5 separate regions of the Homo sapiens genome follow, and regions 2, 3, 4 and 5 are each linked to region 1. The links are contacts of gene promoters, found by promoter capture Hi-C in blood cells and fetal thymus (Javierre and others, 2016). All regions are on one chromosome and are shown on one strand. The core of a region is centred on a gene start or on the middle of the fragment in contact, and the rest is flanking DNA. Distances in the headings are between cores, read along the strand shown. Region 1 holds the start of DOCK3 (dedicator of cytokinesis 3). Region 2 overlaps DOCK3 (dedicator of cytokinesis 3). Region 3 overlaps DOCK3 (dedicator of cytokinesis 3). Region 4 overlaps DOCK3 (dedicator of cytokinesis 3). Region 5 overlaps DOCK3 (dedicator of cytokinesis 3).

Region 1 (2,908 bases), core at 215-2,714:
CTTCCATGGTGGCCACCGGGGAGGGGTCTATCTTCTTGGAACAGTTAGCTCTTTCGTTATGTTCTTGGACACCCCTGCTACCCCTAAAAAGAAGTGTACCTGGCTATTGAGAAATTCTATCATTCACAGAACAGACATTTTTCTGGGCGGGAGTGGGCAGCTATGATTAGTGAGAGGAGGAGCCTAAAGGTCCGAAGGTGGGAAGGGGTGGCCATAACCCAGGGGAGCACAGTCAGGCCTGGGAGGAGTTACCAATCATGACACTTTGAACGAAGAATCAACAAGATCTGTTGATTGCAAGATATTCTTCTATTAGTCTGGCTTCCCATGCAACAACTATACAACAGGTGCTGGGTTGGTGGTGAGGGTTTAGAAAGTTGATTTTAGCCTGGAGCTTGCCTTCTGGGAGCTGACAGTCTTATAAGGGAAATAAGACAAACCGAACATAGCTCCAATTCCAGACAAAGAAGGAAAGGAGACTATGGGTCAGGGCAGGCTTCCTGGAGGTGAGGGGCTGAGCTGGGCTTTGAAGAGTGGTGGTGTCTGAGAGTGCTAGTGAAGGATGACACCAGGGTTTTGACTTAGTAGTGCTAGTGACAGAGATGGGCAAATCTGCTGGGATTAGAGCATGTGGTCCAAATGTAGGTGGAAAGGAGAAGTCCTGCAGTTCCTGTTCTTTGGTAAGTGGTTGACTTGGGGGTCACAAGGTGACATTTACAGGCATCAGAATGAATGGATTCTTAGGGAGGAGAGAGAGGAGGAAAGTTTCCGGTAGGAGCCAGTTCTTAGGGCTCCAAGGGAGGCAGACACCCAGGAGCAGCAGATGCCGTGTCCTGGGTAGGAACACGAAGGGCCCAATGAAGCTCTTCCTTACTAGCAAGGCGGCTGTTGATTGTTCTGGCCCCAAACATTCACCACTCAGGCCATCTCAGAGAAGCAAGAACCCAGGAGGTGTCAGCGGCCTCAGCCCACAGGGGATCCAGGAGAGAGGGGCACGAGTGCACCCCACCTGGTTCCCTCGTGGCGACTCCATCCTGCGGGCCCTGGGAATGCACAGGGTGGCTCCGGGGACCTTTCCGACAGCACTGTGGGTGACACTGGGATGGGTCTGAAAATGGTGTCGTGTCCTCCTTTTCTGGATCTCCCCTCTCCGACCAGGAGGCCTGTGGCCATCTCGGGGCGCAGGCAGGAGGCACTGGAAGCGGAAGCGAGTGGGGAGTCCGGGTAGAGGGAGTCGCCCACCTGACCGGCTTCGCCCCCTCCGGGGTTTGCTGCAGCTGAGGGCCCCGGACCAGCGATTCTAGAAGCCGGTCCGGGGCCGGGCAGTCCAATAGCTTCTCGCGGATTTCCCTCCGCTGGCGCGCAGCAGCGGCGCGTGGATTCGCGCGCGGGCTCGGGACGGCGCGAGCCCGGGCAGCGCGAGCCCCTGCGCGGCAGGGAGTGGCGCATGCGCGGGCGTCCTGCGAGCCCGCTGGGGCGAGCCGAGCCGCGGCGGCGCCGGGAGCCGGGCGGCGGAGCTGTGAAGAAGCAAGCGGCGGCACGGGAGCAGCGGCGACGGACAGGTGGCGAGCCTTCGCCCGCGCCGCCAGGGGCTGCTGGGCCACCCGCGGAGCCTCGCGGTCCAGACGTGGCGGGGGTGGCGGCGGCATCCCGGACGGCCTGTGAGGGATGCGCCGCCCACTGCCCCGCGCCGCCTGACCGTCCCCGCCTCGACTCGCGGTGCGCCACAGCCGGGCCCGCGGCCGTCCCCGCCGCGTTGTCGCCCGGTCGCCGCGCCCGCGGGGCCGCGCCCGGCACGGCCATGTGGACCCCCACGGAGGAGGAGAAATACGGCGTAGGTAGGTGAGGCTCAGGCCTGGCCGTGGCGGGGGTTCTGGGGGACGCGCCCAGCTCCCGGCCCCGCCTGGATTCGCATCCTCGTGCCCCCGCCACTGCCCGCAGGCTGCGCGGCCTCGGCGCGGGGCGAGCGCGGGGTGGGGGCAGGTGCGGGTGCGGGTGCGGGTGCGGGGGTGGGCGCGGGTCTCTGTGCAGAGAGGGCGGCAGGGGGCGCTGGCGGTGCGGCCTTGGCAGGTGCGGCCCGCGGGAGGGGTGGGCAAGGCCCGGGCAGTTGCCCGAGGTTTCTGGTGTGGGCCACGGGGCAATTTTACCCGATAAACCAAATTCTGGGAATATGTTTTCTCCCCTCCAAAAGCTCGATTTTAATGAGTTTCCGCACCTGAATTGATGAGCCCGATGGCTGTTTATTTTTGATCTGGAACCTTACAAGAAAACGGATGAAAAACGTTGACATCATTTTCCCAGTTCAAAAATTTGGACATTTGACTGCAAATGTTTGATCTGTTTTAATTTGTTTTGCCTTTAGTATTAGAAATAATACCTTACGATGGGAAATGTTTTTGGACATGTATCAATGTTTATACGGTTTTTTTTTTAAACCCTGTTTTCAGATGAGACCTTATTCCTCTTAGAAACCTTTTTTTAATGTTGTAAGTGTTAAACTCCAGAAGCTAAATAATTCTTACAATATTCAACTTCTTTAAAAAGAATATTCAGTAATTTAAAGTATTGAATGTTTTACAATGTTAGTGTTTTGTGGCAATTACATGATAGAGTTAAGCCTCATTGCATCACCTATCATCTTGTTCAGTTAGAAACAGATTTAAAATGTTGAGTGTACAGGTTTTGTTTTTCCTAAGCTCGTAATGGAAAATTTTAGATAGGAAACCTGTCTAAACATAGATTTTTGTTTCCCATCTTTACCGCAATTTAATCAAGATTTAGTTCACAATTCACTACAAAATAACTTGAAACTGCAGTGGTAACGAATGTTTTGGAATGCTATCAGGCAGGTTATCGTGTGAAAATTGAATTTATTTAAATTCGAGGACCAGCAGAGAGGTCTTCTATT
Region 2 (2,908 bases), core at 245-2,744, 410 kb after region 1:
GGTGATCAGCCTGGTGAAACTGCCCTAGCTGTTGCCTGTGTACTAAGGGACCTGAGAGGTGGCACACCACTGCTACTGCCATTGCCAGTGCCATGTGTACCACCACGGGGCCTGAGTACCCACTTGATCATTATCACTAGCACCCAAGCATGCTGCCTGGAGGCCCAAGGACTGACCTTCCACCATGGGGTCCCACATATACCACCTGGGGACCTAAGGACCAGCCCATCTGATCTTCTTGTTCCTAGCTAAGCCTCACCACAGCATCTACTAACAACCACAGTCTAAGTCACTGCAGAACTCACAGACACCACTGACACTGATTATAGCTGAAGAAATCATATGGAGAGTCTGCTACTGCACTCACCTAGAATCAAATCCAAAGCACCCTACCTAACACTAAATATACATCTATAGGAAAAAGTCTTTCCCTATGTAAACCAATCTATAAAATTAGAACAAGCAGCTGTTACACTGGATGCCCACATATCAATGTAAGGACACAAGAAACATAAAAAAGCAAAGATACATGACACTTCCAAACAAAGACAATAATTCTCTAGTAACAGATCCCATAGAAAAGAAAATGAATGAAATCCCTGAAAAATAATTCAAAATAAGATTAAAGAAGCTCAGTGAGATACAAGAGAACACAGATAAACAATAAAAAATCAGAAAAGCAATTCATGAGTTGAAGTTTAACAAAGAGATATGCATCATAGAAAGGAACCAAACAGAAATCCTGGAACTGAAGCTTTAGTGAATGAAAGAAAAAATACAGTCAAGAGCTTCAACAATAGATGAAATCAAGCAAAAGAAAGACTTTCTGGCCAAGCGCAGTGGCTCATGACTATAATCCCAGCACTTTAGGAGGCCAAGGCAGGTGGATCACCTGAGGCCAAGAGTTCGAGACCAGCCTGACCAACATGGTGAAACCTTGTCTCTACTAAAAATAGAAAAAATTAACCAGGCATGGTGATGTGCACCTGTAGGCCCAGCTACTTGGGAGACTGAGGCAGGAGAATCACTTGAACCCAGGAGGCGAAGGTTGCAGTGAGCCAAGATCACACCACTGTACTCCAGCCTGGGCGACAGAGCGAGACTCCATCTCAAATAAATAAATAAATAAATAAAAGAGTTTCTGAATCTGAAGACAGGTTTTTTGACATCAATCAGATGAAAAGAAAAAAGAGTAAAGAAAGCTTATGTGACATACAGGGTACCAGAAGCAAATAAATATTCAAATTTTGGCAGTTTCACAAGGAGAAGGCATGGGCAAAGATATAGAAAACCTGCTAATGAGATAATAGCTGAAAACTTCACAAGTCTTGCAAGAGATAAAGACATCCAAATACAGAAAGCTCAAATATCCCCAAATAGATGTAATCTAATAAGATTTTAAAGGTATATATATATAATCAAACTATTAAAAATCAAAGACAAATAATTCTAAAAACAGTTAAAAGCATCATGTCACATATAAGGGAATCTCCACCAGACTAATAGCACATTTCTCAGCAGAAACCTTCTAGACCAGGAGAGAATGGGATGACAGATTCAAAGTTCTGGGGTGAGGGATTGGTGGGGGCATGAGGGGAATTGTCAGCCAAGAATACTATACCCAACAAAGCTATCCTTAAATGGAGGTTACATAAAATCTTTCTAGACAAGCAAAAACTGAGGGAATTCATCACCACTGGACCAGTCCTACAAGAAATGTTTCAGGGATTTCTGTATCTGGAAGCGAAAGGACAATGTCTACCATCATGAAAACACACAAAAGTATAAAGCTTACTGGTAGCATACATATACAAATGAGAAAGGAGTTAAACATTACCATCATAAAAAAACCACCAAATCTTAAAGGCAAACAAGAAACAAGGAAGAAAGAAATGAAGAATGTATTAAACAATCACAAAATAATTAACAAAACAACAGGAGTGAGTCCTTACCTGTTACTAACAACCTTGAATATGAACTGTTTAAATTCTCCAATTAAAAAATATAGACTGCCTGAATTGATTTTAAAAATCAAGACCCAACTATATGTTCTCTACAAAAAACTCAGTTTACCTATAACGACACACATAGACTGAAAGTGAAGGGATGGAAAAAAAATTCCATGCAAATAGAAACCTAAAGCATGCAATAATAGCTATACTTATATCAGAGAAAATGGACTTTACATCAAAAAACATAAAAATAGATAAGGTCATTATGTAATGATAAAGGGATCAATTCAGCAAGAGGATATAACAGTTGTAAATATATGTGCATCCAATACCACAGCACCCAGATATATAAGCAAATACTATCAGAGCAAAAGAGTTCAACAGACCCCAATGCATTAATAGTTGGGGACTTCAGCATTACACTTTCAGCACTGGACAGATTATCCAGACAGAAAGTCAACAAACATCAGGCTTACTCTGTTCTATAGAACAAATGTACTTAACAGACATTACAAAATATTTCATTCAACAGTATAGAGCACATATTTTTCTCATCAGCACATGGAACATACTCCAGGATACAGCACATATTAGGCCACAAACAAGTCTCAACAAATTTTGAAAAATCAAAATCATGTCAAGTATCTTCTCAGACCACAGGGAAATAAAACTAGAAATCAATAAAAAGAGGAACTTTGTAAACTGTATAAACACATGGAAATTAAACAGCATGCTCCTGAATAAGCAATGAGTGAATGAACAAATTAAAAAGGAAATTAAAAACTTGCTTGAAACAAGTGAAAATGGAAACACAACATATCCAAATTCTGTGAGATATGGCAAAAGCAGTACTAAGAGGGAAGTTTACAGTAATAAATACCTACATAAAAATTGGAAAGATTTCAAATAAACAACCTAATGGTGTGCCTTAAGGACCCCAAAAAAGGAAAAACAAA
Region 3 (2,908 bases), core at 212-2,711, 380 kb after region 1:
TATTTAAGAATGAGGCATTAAAATGTTGACAGAAAGCTCTGTGAATTGGGCTAGTATTTATCAATTAGTGAACATTACTTTAGAGGGATTAGAAGAGGGCCTGGCTTTTGATGGAAAAAGTAGAGCAGCTGTCAATATTTCTGGATCTTTTCCCCTGGGCTGAGTTTTCCTAAAGAGGAATCTTCTCCATTCTTCATATGCAGGTATCAGCCTGGTTGTTAACATCTGGGGAGCTCGATGTGGAAAGCACACTGGGAAAGGGTTGGGGGTAAAGGGGGATAATACTTCTAGGCTTCAGAGATTTCTGGTACCTCCAGTCTCAGAGCCTTTCTGCAGAGGCTTGCATCTTACTGATTTCTTCCCTGTTTCCCACCCTCCTCACTTGTCTTCCTCCACCTTACTCTTAGGGCTTTTTTAGTTTTCTATTCTTTGACAAGTCATCTACTTTCCAGCTTTCACCTTTAATGTTTGGTGGAGTGGATAGTTGTGCATGGGAAGGATTGAGGCTGGCTTTTTATTAGTCTCCCTAAGAAGAGATGCCTATGGACACATCGAGGACTGACTTTAAGTAGAGATTTGATCTGTCCTGTGTAGTAGGAGTGACTGTGAGCCTGAGAACGCCTCAGCTGTTTACTGCCCACTGTTAGGTAAGTCTGCCTTGTTCAGAATTGTGAATGGATGCCCTTCACTTGGCATCTATCCATCCGTGAATGGATGACTTCAGCAACTACAGCCTCCATTGTCATATCTCTAATATTTTTTCTACCTTTCTACCTTTGGTGTTGTTCCTTTCTTATGAAGATCTGCTCTGTGGAATAGAAAGATTTTTACAAATCTTAGCTCTCCTGCAAATATATGTGTTGTAAGAGAGGATTAGAGCTATAATGCTATTTGTTATTTGGAATATCAACTCTATAATGGAGGATGTATTTGGGCTGGGGATAGACTGAGGATGATATCATGGCCCTTGAGATGTGGAGGAGTTAGATGTATGTGCCAAGGAAATACATATTGTATGGATACTTCCTCATATTAATGAAGAGAAAAAGAATTTTCATATCGCTTCTTTGCATTTTCATTTGTTGTAAATATGTGCTTGAAAATCAGTGTGAATTAGCTTTGGTTTAGATACTGTTTTGTTTCACAAAAATTTCTATCTTTTGTACTCAGTTGCTGACTATGTTGTTCGGCAAACTAAAATGAAAGTTTAGATTCCTGGGTTTAAAGGTATTTTATTATTATTATTTTTATTTTATTTATTTTTTGAGACGGAGTCTCGCTCTGTTCCCCAGGCTGGAATGCAGTGGCACAATCTCGGCTCACTGCAAGCTCTGCCTTCCAGGTTCACACCATTCTCCTGCCTCTGCCTCCCGAGTAACTGGGACTACAGGTGCCCGCCACCATGGCTGGCTAATTTTTTGTATTTTTAGTAGAGACGAGGTTTCACAGTGTTAGCCAGGATGGTCTCGATGTCCTGACCTCGTGATCCACCCACCTCAGCTTCCCAAAGTGCTGGGATTACAGGCGTGAGCCACTGTGCCTGGCCATTTAAAGGTATTTTTGACATAAAGGTCATTAGGGTTCCAAGTACTGTAGTCTAGAAATCTTTTCATTATATTGGGATGAGTTTTGGAATATAAGAAAACATCTAGAATAGGATTAGAGGTTACTTCATGAGAAGAGACTTGAAGATTAGTAGTAATGAAAAAAGAATGCTGTTTTGGGAGTTTTGAATAAACTCAAGTTCTTAATGGTTAATTTGTTAAAAAGAAAGTGAGAAAAAACCCATCTACTTATGTATAAAGGAATATTCAAAAAGAAAATGTAAAATAGGGGAGATCTGGTAATCTTCCCACAACAACATTGGAAGGAAACAATGTTTATCTTCCATTAAATTGATTTTGATGTAAAGTTTTTAGTACTAGTGGCAGGACATTATTCTCTTTGAGGATAGCAAAATTTCTGATGTCATTTTTATTTAATTAGATTTTTATGATGCTGTGTTTATATTAATTGGTCCGTAAGCATATGTAGTTTTAAAATAAAGGTAATATACTTTCTGGCAAATGCCCTACAACTTTGCTCATTTACTGACTTAGAGGCATCACTGTGGCACAACGTTTCTTTCCATACTGGGTTAAAAATAATTTAGCAAAAATTATCTTTAAAACAGGAGCACTAAAACATATTCTTTTTTTCTGCAGAGCTCCAGGGATTGTTTCACAACAGTGAGGCAAATTGTACTTGGCATGCGTTTGTAAAGTAGTTTAATCATTCTAAATTTATGGTTTCTGCTGACTCTTCAGTGTACTTTCCAAATAATCTGTGACTGATCTTGACAAATATTAGTCTGTAGGGTTTTTGCAGAGGCTGGATGTGTTGCTAAGATGAGCTATACAGATTTCTTCTGCCCAATCTCCTCCTCATTGAATTTTCCTTTTATTTTAGCAGTGACAGGAAATAGGGATGATTGTGCCAGAAAACAAAACCTGTAGTGCCAACCTAATTATACTGTTACTTTAATCCACTGAGGAGCAGGTCTCTAAGTAGAAAAGGATTGTTTTTCCTGAGTGAGGTATTCAGCTGTTTTGTGGCATCAGATCATTCTAGGTGAATGTATGCTCTGGTGCTAGTCACCCAGATTGCTCACCTTGAGTGGTATATACTGTCTTATGCTAACAAGCCCAAGAACACAGTGCGGTGTCGGAGCAATGTTGGTGGAGCCTCTACTGCTAGGGTCTCTGGTCAGAGAGGTCATTAGGTTGGCCCGGAAAAAGAAATTAACACCACATTGGTTATAATAACAGTGCTGCTTTACTTAATCCATTTCCTTCTTTGTGCATCTTTACACAGTTGGTGTAGGATAAGTAATTTCATTTTCATGTATTTGGAAACAACTGATTTTCTA
Region 4 (2,908 bases), core at 154-2,653, 350 kb after region 1:
GGTGGAATTCCTTTTATAGATAATTTAGCCCTTTTTTCTAGCTAGTTTTAAGATTTTTTTTTTCACGTTGATCTTGGATAATCAGAATACTGTGTAACTTTGGGATGTTTGTCTTGTGTATCTTGCAGGTGTTCTCTTAATTTCTTGTAGCTGCATGTCAACCTCTAGCAAGATTGGGGAAATTTTTCTGAATTATACCCTCAAATACGTTTTCTAAATTGCTTACTTTCTGTTTTTTTCTCTCAGAAATGAAAATAAGTCATGGGCTTGGTTGCTTTACATAATCCCATATTTCTTGAAGGTTTTGTTTTTTTAAATTGTTTTTTCTTTGATTTTTGTCTGAGTGGGTTGACTCAAAGACTGGTCTTCAAGCTGTGAAATTCTTTCTTCTAATTGGTCTAGTCTGTTGTTAAGGTTTCCAATGCATTTTGAAATTCCTGTAGTGAAATTTTAAATTCCAGTTCTGTTTGGTTCTTTTTTTAATATAGCTATGTTGTCTTTCATATCTTGATCATTTCTCTGGTGACTTTGTATTGAATTTCAACTTCCATGAGAATCTCATTGTGTTTTCTTGCCATCTGTATTCTTAATTCTATATTGTCATTTCAGACATTTTAGTCTGGTTGGCATCCATTGCTAGAGAGCTAGTGTGATCCTTTGGAGGTGAAGAAACACTGGCTTTTTTTATTGCCAGAGTTCTTGTGCTGATTCCTTTTCATCTGAGAGAGCTGATGTTTCTTTTTTTAAAAATTTACTTTAATTTTAATGGGCTTTTTTGATTTTTTATTCTTCTTTCCCTTGAGGATATGACTGTGCTGTATGTTGTATATGATCATTTCTCTTCATTTCTGCATGCTTTCAGAGGGCCAAGGTTTTGTATGGGTTCCTTGGTTACAGATAGGTTCATGTAGTCATTTTCTGAGATGCTACTTGCAACGATGTATTTTTCTTTGGTTGTGTAATTCAGGCTGCAGTCTGGTAGATGGTGTCTAAGAGTAAGAGCCAGCAGGTAGGCTTTTACTTAGTTCATGCTTGCTCACCCTCTGCGGGGCTGGAGCTGCCATAAAAGCATGAAAAGCTCTCTCTCAGCATGTGCTTGGCTTTCAGTGGGGGTGGGGCTGCCAAAGAAGCACAAAAATCATTCTTTTTCAGTGCACACCCACGAGGCCCCAGTGGGAAAGGCATCTGCCATGTCTGCAACAGTGCACTGGGGAGGGGAACAGGGGGAAAGAGATGATTCTCTCTTCATGTTCATTCCCAGGCTTTGGTGGAACCCCCTGAAGTGGTTGGTGCCACACCTGCATTCCCTTTGTCCCAAGGCGGGGCTTTGGTGTGCTGCCCTCCTCCTTCCCTTAGGTGCAGTTTGTGTTGAAGGTTATATCTCCAGGGGACCCACAACTCCCTGGGGATCCAACAGTCCCTCATGCTTGCCAGAGTCAGAGTGGGTTGTGGGGTATGTCTGCTGGTGGTCTAAGGGTGCAGTGGCTCAAGGGTGGAGAATCTCTCATCAGGGCAGTGGTACCACATGTGCACAGCTAGCATGGCACCTGCCATCTCAGTCTGCATCTGAAGGGGCAGGTTCAGCACATCTGCTCAAGGTGGCCACCTGGTTCTCTGTTCCTGAGAAGATCTCTAATTGCCACCTATTGTGTTTCCCTGGGACACGGGGTCGGGGGGTGGGCCAGAGGCGCTCTCCAGCAGTTTGGCAGTAAGCAGATTATCAGAGGGGGAAGGGGAGGAGGAAAGCACTCTCTCCTACTCTTTCTACTGGACTCTGACCTCCTTGGAGGTCAATGCCAGACAGACTTTTGCTGCTCATTTTCTGTGCGCCCCACTTCTTTGGTTGGGCATTCCAACAAGTCCTGGCTCTCCACCTTCCATTTTGCACTCCAAACTTGACCATTCACTAATAACTTTGATCTTTTTTCTGAGAAGAATTTATGCTGTTCCTAGTTGGCCATCTTTTGGTCTGTTTCAGTTGACTGTTTTTTCCATGGTCATGTCTCCTGGTAGGCCTGATAATTTTTAATTGAATCCCAGATATCACGTATGAAAAATTATAGAGGCTTTGCATGCTGTCCTCTTCCCCTATAGAGTGCTCACCTTATCCCCTGGCTATTTGAGTAAGGCAGATTCTTTGATATGGCAGCATTATAGTCATGGTAAGGTATAGTCTACCTCTGATTAGTATCCATTTTTAGGATACACCCTCTAGTGGTTCTAGTTGAGAGGCTAGGTTGTTTACTGTGTGTTGTTTACCTTCTTGTCAAGTTCTGGATCCAATTTTTGTCTCCAAAACACTGCTAAAATCTGTTCTACTTTTAGTTTACTTTCTGCTAGTCATTTTAGTACTGAGTAATAAGCATTTTAAGAATCAGCAAATGTGTCAAGAGGAATAACATCTCCAAGAGCATAGAGCACACCTAAATAGGCTTCTGTTTTCTTTTAAATCTTAGCCCCTCAAGTTTTGACAACCTTGGCAGCACAAACCCCAATTTTTGTCTTCCCCGTCCTGTGTGATTGCCTAAAGCTCTCATCTATTAGTGGCCATCCTCTCTCTGGCTTCTTAGCCTTTCTTGCCAACCTAAGAATCATTAAATCTCTGATTGGGAAAATGGCATGCAAAATGTTGGGCTACCCCACTGAGTTTTCCTTCTTTCCTTGATCTTTGCTTTGTAATGCCTGGCTGTCTTGAAAACTCTTTAACTTCAAAAAGGTATGCTTTGTACTTTTTCATATGTTTTAGCTGTACTCACAGGAACTTTGGGCGGCTGGAAACTATCATCACTAGGACACAGAAATTTTCATACTTTTCAATTTGCTATGTCTATAACAATTACTTTTTTCTTCTATATTTTATTGTCATCCTTTTTTGATCAGCTACTTTGTTGGTAATAGATATTTGGGT
Region 5 (2,908 bases), core at 195-2,694, 270 kb after region 1:
TTTTTAAAAGCCAAAAGCACACTGGAGGTCATGCAAAGAAGTTATATTTTTCCCTGTGCCAAGATAGTAATTAAGGCCAAGTACTAATGTAAGCTAGAAAAGGAATTTATTACCCAGAATCATCTTTATTCTTCATTTTTAGAGTTATTGTGGCAATAAGAAAAAGGGAATTTTCCAGCAACTAGGAAATCTTCATCAAAAAGCTTTGTAGGCGGGGCATGGTGGCTCAGGCCTGTAATTCTAGCACTTTGGGAGGTTGAGGTGAGCGGATCACCTGAGGCCAGATGTTCGAGACCAGCCTGGCCAAGATGGCAAAACCCCATCTCTACTAAAAGTACAAAAAATTAGCTGGGCATGGTGGCAGGAGCCTGTAATCCCAGCTATTCAGGAGGCTGAGGCAGGAGAATTGCTTGAACCTGGGAGGTGGAGGCTGCAGTGAGCTGAGATCGCGTCATCACACTCCTGCCTGGGCAACAAGAATGAAACTCCATCTCAAAAAAACAAAAACAAACACAAACTAACAAATAAAAACCCAAAAAAGCTTTGTAGTTGTTTCCTATCAACTTAAACATGGCATTTTCTGTGAGAGAATTTAACATTCAACTAGAGTATCCTGTTAAGATGACATTTAATAAGATAAGGATAAACTAAAAGGTAAAGGTATGTGTGTTTGCATTAATTTTGACTGTGAATTTTTCCTCAAGTATACAACTGAAGCGTTTTATAATTGTAGATAAATTGCTTCAGTCATTTTGTGTGTACTACTGTAGGGTGACAATATTATTAGAATTTTTGCTTTCCTATTAAAAATTCACCTTTATTTAAGTGGGTATGTATGATGAAGTTTACCATATAGTTTGTTTTTTGTAATGAAACATACTTTAATATAATACTTTAGTATTTAGTATAATACTTTAGTATTTTCATTTTATAGGAAGAGATTAAACACTCTACTAGGGCATAGTTACTGAAGATGACATGCTTTGTAACAGTTCTATTTTGTATTAATATAAGAGATTATGTTTTATTTTTTAAAGAGTCTCTAAGAAATGAACAATTTCTAGATTTTATGAGAAACAAGACACAGTTCTCTGAATTCTGCTGTATAATCCCTTCCTTTAAATCCCTGGAAGATTAAATTTGCAAATGGAAGATGGCATAGCACGTTGAGACCCCTCATAACAGAATATGCAAAATTCCATTATTCATTTTTATGGTTATCCCAAGAATATTGATTTGTTAAAGATTAAGAACATACATTTTTGCACCTTTATATATTCAGATTATGTATAAGAGGAATTTAGGGGAATATCATATAGTGGCTAAGTGCACAGGCTTTGGAAACAGATTTCCTGAATTCAGATTCAAATGTCACAATTTGCTAGCTGCATGATTTTGAGCACTTTAGCTTCACTGTAGGGGATAATGGGACCCACATTCCAGGGTTGTCATGTTGTTTAAATGATATAAAAAGTTTAGGGCCAGTGTAGTGGCTCATTTCTGTAATCCCAGCTACTTGGGAAGCTGAGGCAGGAAGATCATTTGAGCCCAGGAGTTTAAGGCTGCTGTGAGCTATGATTGAGCTACTTTGCTCCAGCTCTGGGCAATAGAGTGAAACCCCATCTCTTAAAAAAAAAAAAAAAAAAAAAAAGGCTTATAACTGTGCCTTGTGCATTTTCAGTGATTAAATGCTTACTCATATTTGACTTTTGTTGCTATTTCATAGGAATGGGTATTTACTGTTGTAGGAGTCTGTTACTGAAGAAGGGCTTTGACGTGCTTTAGCCCTACTATTTTTCAAATATATACTAGTTCCCTATCTTACCCCACCCTCAACTTTTTAATCTTTGGAAGATAATGCCCGTTTTTTGCTGCATTAAAGATATATTTTGTACATAACAAGATATGATAGTTTCAAAGATTTTTCTCTCAATGTAATTAAAATTAGTATTTTAACTATGTAAGGCTATCTTTTGTTTTTTGAAGATAACTTTTAGTGTATTTCATCTTAGCTAGGTTTACAATCTAAAAGTATATTTTGGCAGACACCCTAGTGGCTATCCAGTATCCAGAATCTTCTTCCTTGTTAAAAGATCTCAGAACTGTTTAGGTAGGCAGTGTGTACAGCTAAAAAGTATTCATCTTTCCTGACTCCCTTGAAGCTAGGGGAGGTTGTATGATACACTTCTGGCTATAAGAAATAAGAAGTAGTTTGTACAAGGGATTTCTGGAAATGCCATTGTTTTGCTTGTAGCAGACTGCATTGTCACAAGATTGTTTTCTTGTAACTGCATTAGCATGCTCATTAGCCCATCGTCCTTCATCCTTCTCTCTTTTTAGTTTTGGGTAAGCTTATGATGCAGTTGCTGTCTTATTACCAGGATATGACAACTACAAGGTTAAAAATTTTATTCCAGGGATGTCAGGATGCAACGATGGAAGATGTCTAAAACTTTGTTCACATTGTACAGTCACTGTAAAAATCCTATTTAACTTCTAAACTTTTTATGTGAGAAAATAGTTAAATCCTGTTAACAACAGGATAAAAAAACCAAACACAAACCTAATTGATCTATGAGATGTCACTGAGGAATAGTGAACTGACTCATTAAATGATTGATTCCCACTACTTTTAATTTACTAGTTTTTTTTTATGTGATATAGTGAGCTTACCTTCACTACTGTCTGTATTGAAATAGAAATTGATTCTCAAATTATTTATATAAATATATGTTTTAAAATTGACTTTTTCTTCAAAATGTGATTTATTTTAATTTTGTAATATATAGCTTTCACACCAGACATAGTCAACTTATAATAGTTTGAAAGCATTTAGTCCCCAAGAAGACATGGTAACTACAGAAGAGATAACCTAAGTAGTCAAATTATTTAGAGTGATTATATGCCT

Evidence for each region. Contacts are between HindIII fragments. The CHiCAGO score rates a contact against its expected background, and 5 or more counts as called.
Region 2: a fragment that was not itself captured here is called in contact with the fragment with the promoter of DOCK3 in region 1 in 1 of 17 cell types (M2 macrophages); the score reaches 5.9 in M2 macrophages.
Region 3: a contact is called between a fragment that was not itself captured here and the fragment with the promoter of DOCK3 in region 1, in 1 of 17 cell types (M0 macrophages). The highest score is 5.2, in M0 macrophages.
Region 4: a fragment that was not itself captured here is called in contact with the fragment with the promoter of DOCK3 in region 1 in 1 of 17 cell types (M2 macrophages); the score reaches 5.4 in M2 macrophages.
Region 5: a contact is called between a fragment that was not itself captured here and the fragment with the promoter of DOCK3 in region 1, in 1 of 17 cell types (M2 macrophages). The highest score is 7.0, in M2 macrophages.

Annotation. Positions count from the first base shown.
Region 1 is chr3:50,673,463-50,676,370 of GRCh38, forward strand. DOCK3 (dedicator of cytokinesis 3) reads left to right here and starts at 1,465. Exons shown (of 53, transcript NM_004947.5): 1 at 1,465-1,838. The coding sequence starts at 1,802. It overlaps MIR4787 (microRNA 4787), which reads left to right and starts at 1,618; the gene lies at 1,618-1,701. RefSeq lists a silencer at 1,429-1,718. The HindIII fragment of the contact is 16,225 bases long and covers 1-2,908 here.
Region 2 is chr3:51,082,873-51,085,780 of GRCh38, forward strand. The region is part of intron 7 of DOCK3 (dedicator of cytokinesis 3); the gene reads left to right. Among named protein-coding and RNA genes, the nearest start is that of MANF, 300 kb to the right of the region's middle. The HindIII fragment of the contact is 588 bases long and covers 1,201-1,788 here.
Region 3 is chr3:51,055,002-51,057,909 of GRCh38, forward strand. The region is part of intron 5 of DOCK3 (dedicator of cytokinesis 3); the gene reads left to right. Among named protein-coding and RNA genes, the nearest start is that of MANF, 330 kb to the right of the region's middle. The HindIII fragment of the contact is 2,995 bases long and covers 1-2,908 here.
Region 4 is chr3:51,028,303-51,031,210 of GRCh38, forward strand. The region is part of intron 5 of DOCK3 (dedicator of cytokinesis 3); the gene reads left to right. Among named protein-coding and RNA genes, the nearest start is that of MIR4787, 350 kb to the left of the region's middle. The HindIII fragment of the contact is 3,047 bases long and covers 1-2,908 here.
Region 5 is chr3:50,944,467-50,947,374 of GRCh38, forward strand. All of the region lies in intron 5 of DOCK3 (dedicator of cytokinesis 3), which reads left to right. Among named protein-coding and RNA genes, the nearest start is that of MIR4787, 270 kb to the left of the region's middle. The HindIII fragment of the contact is 1,810 bases long and covers 540-2,349 here.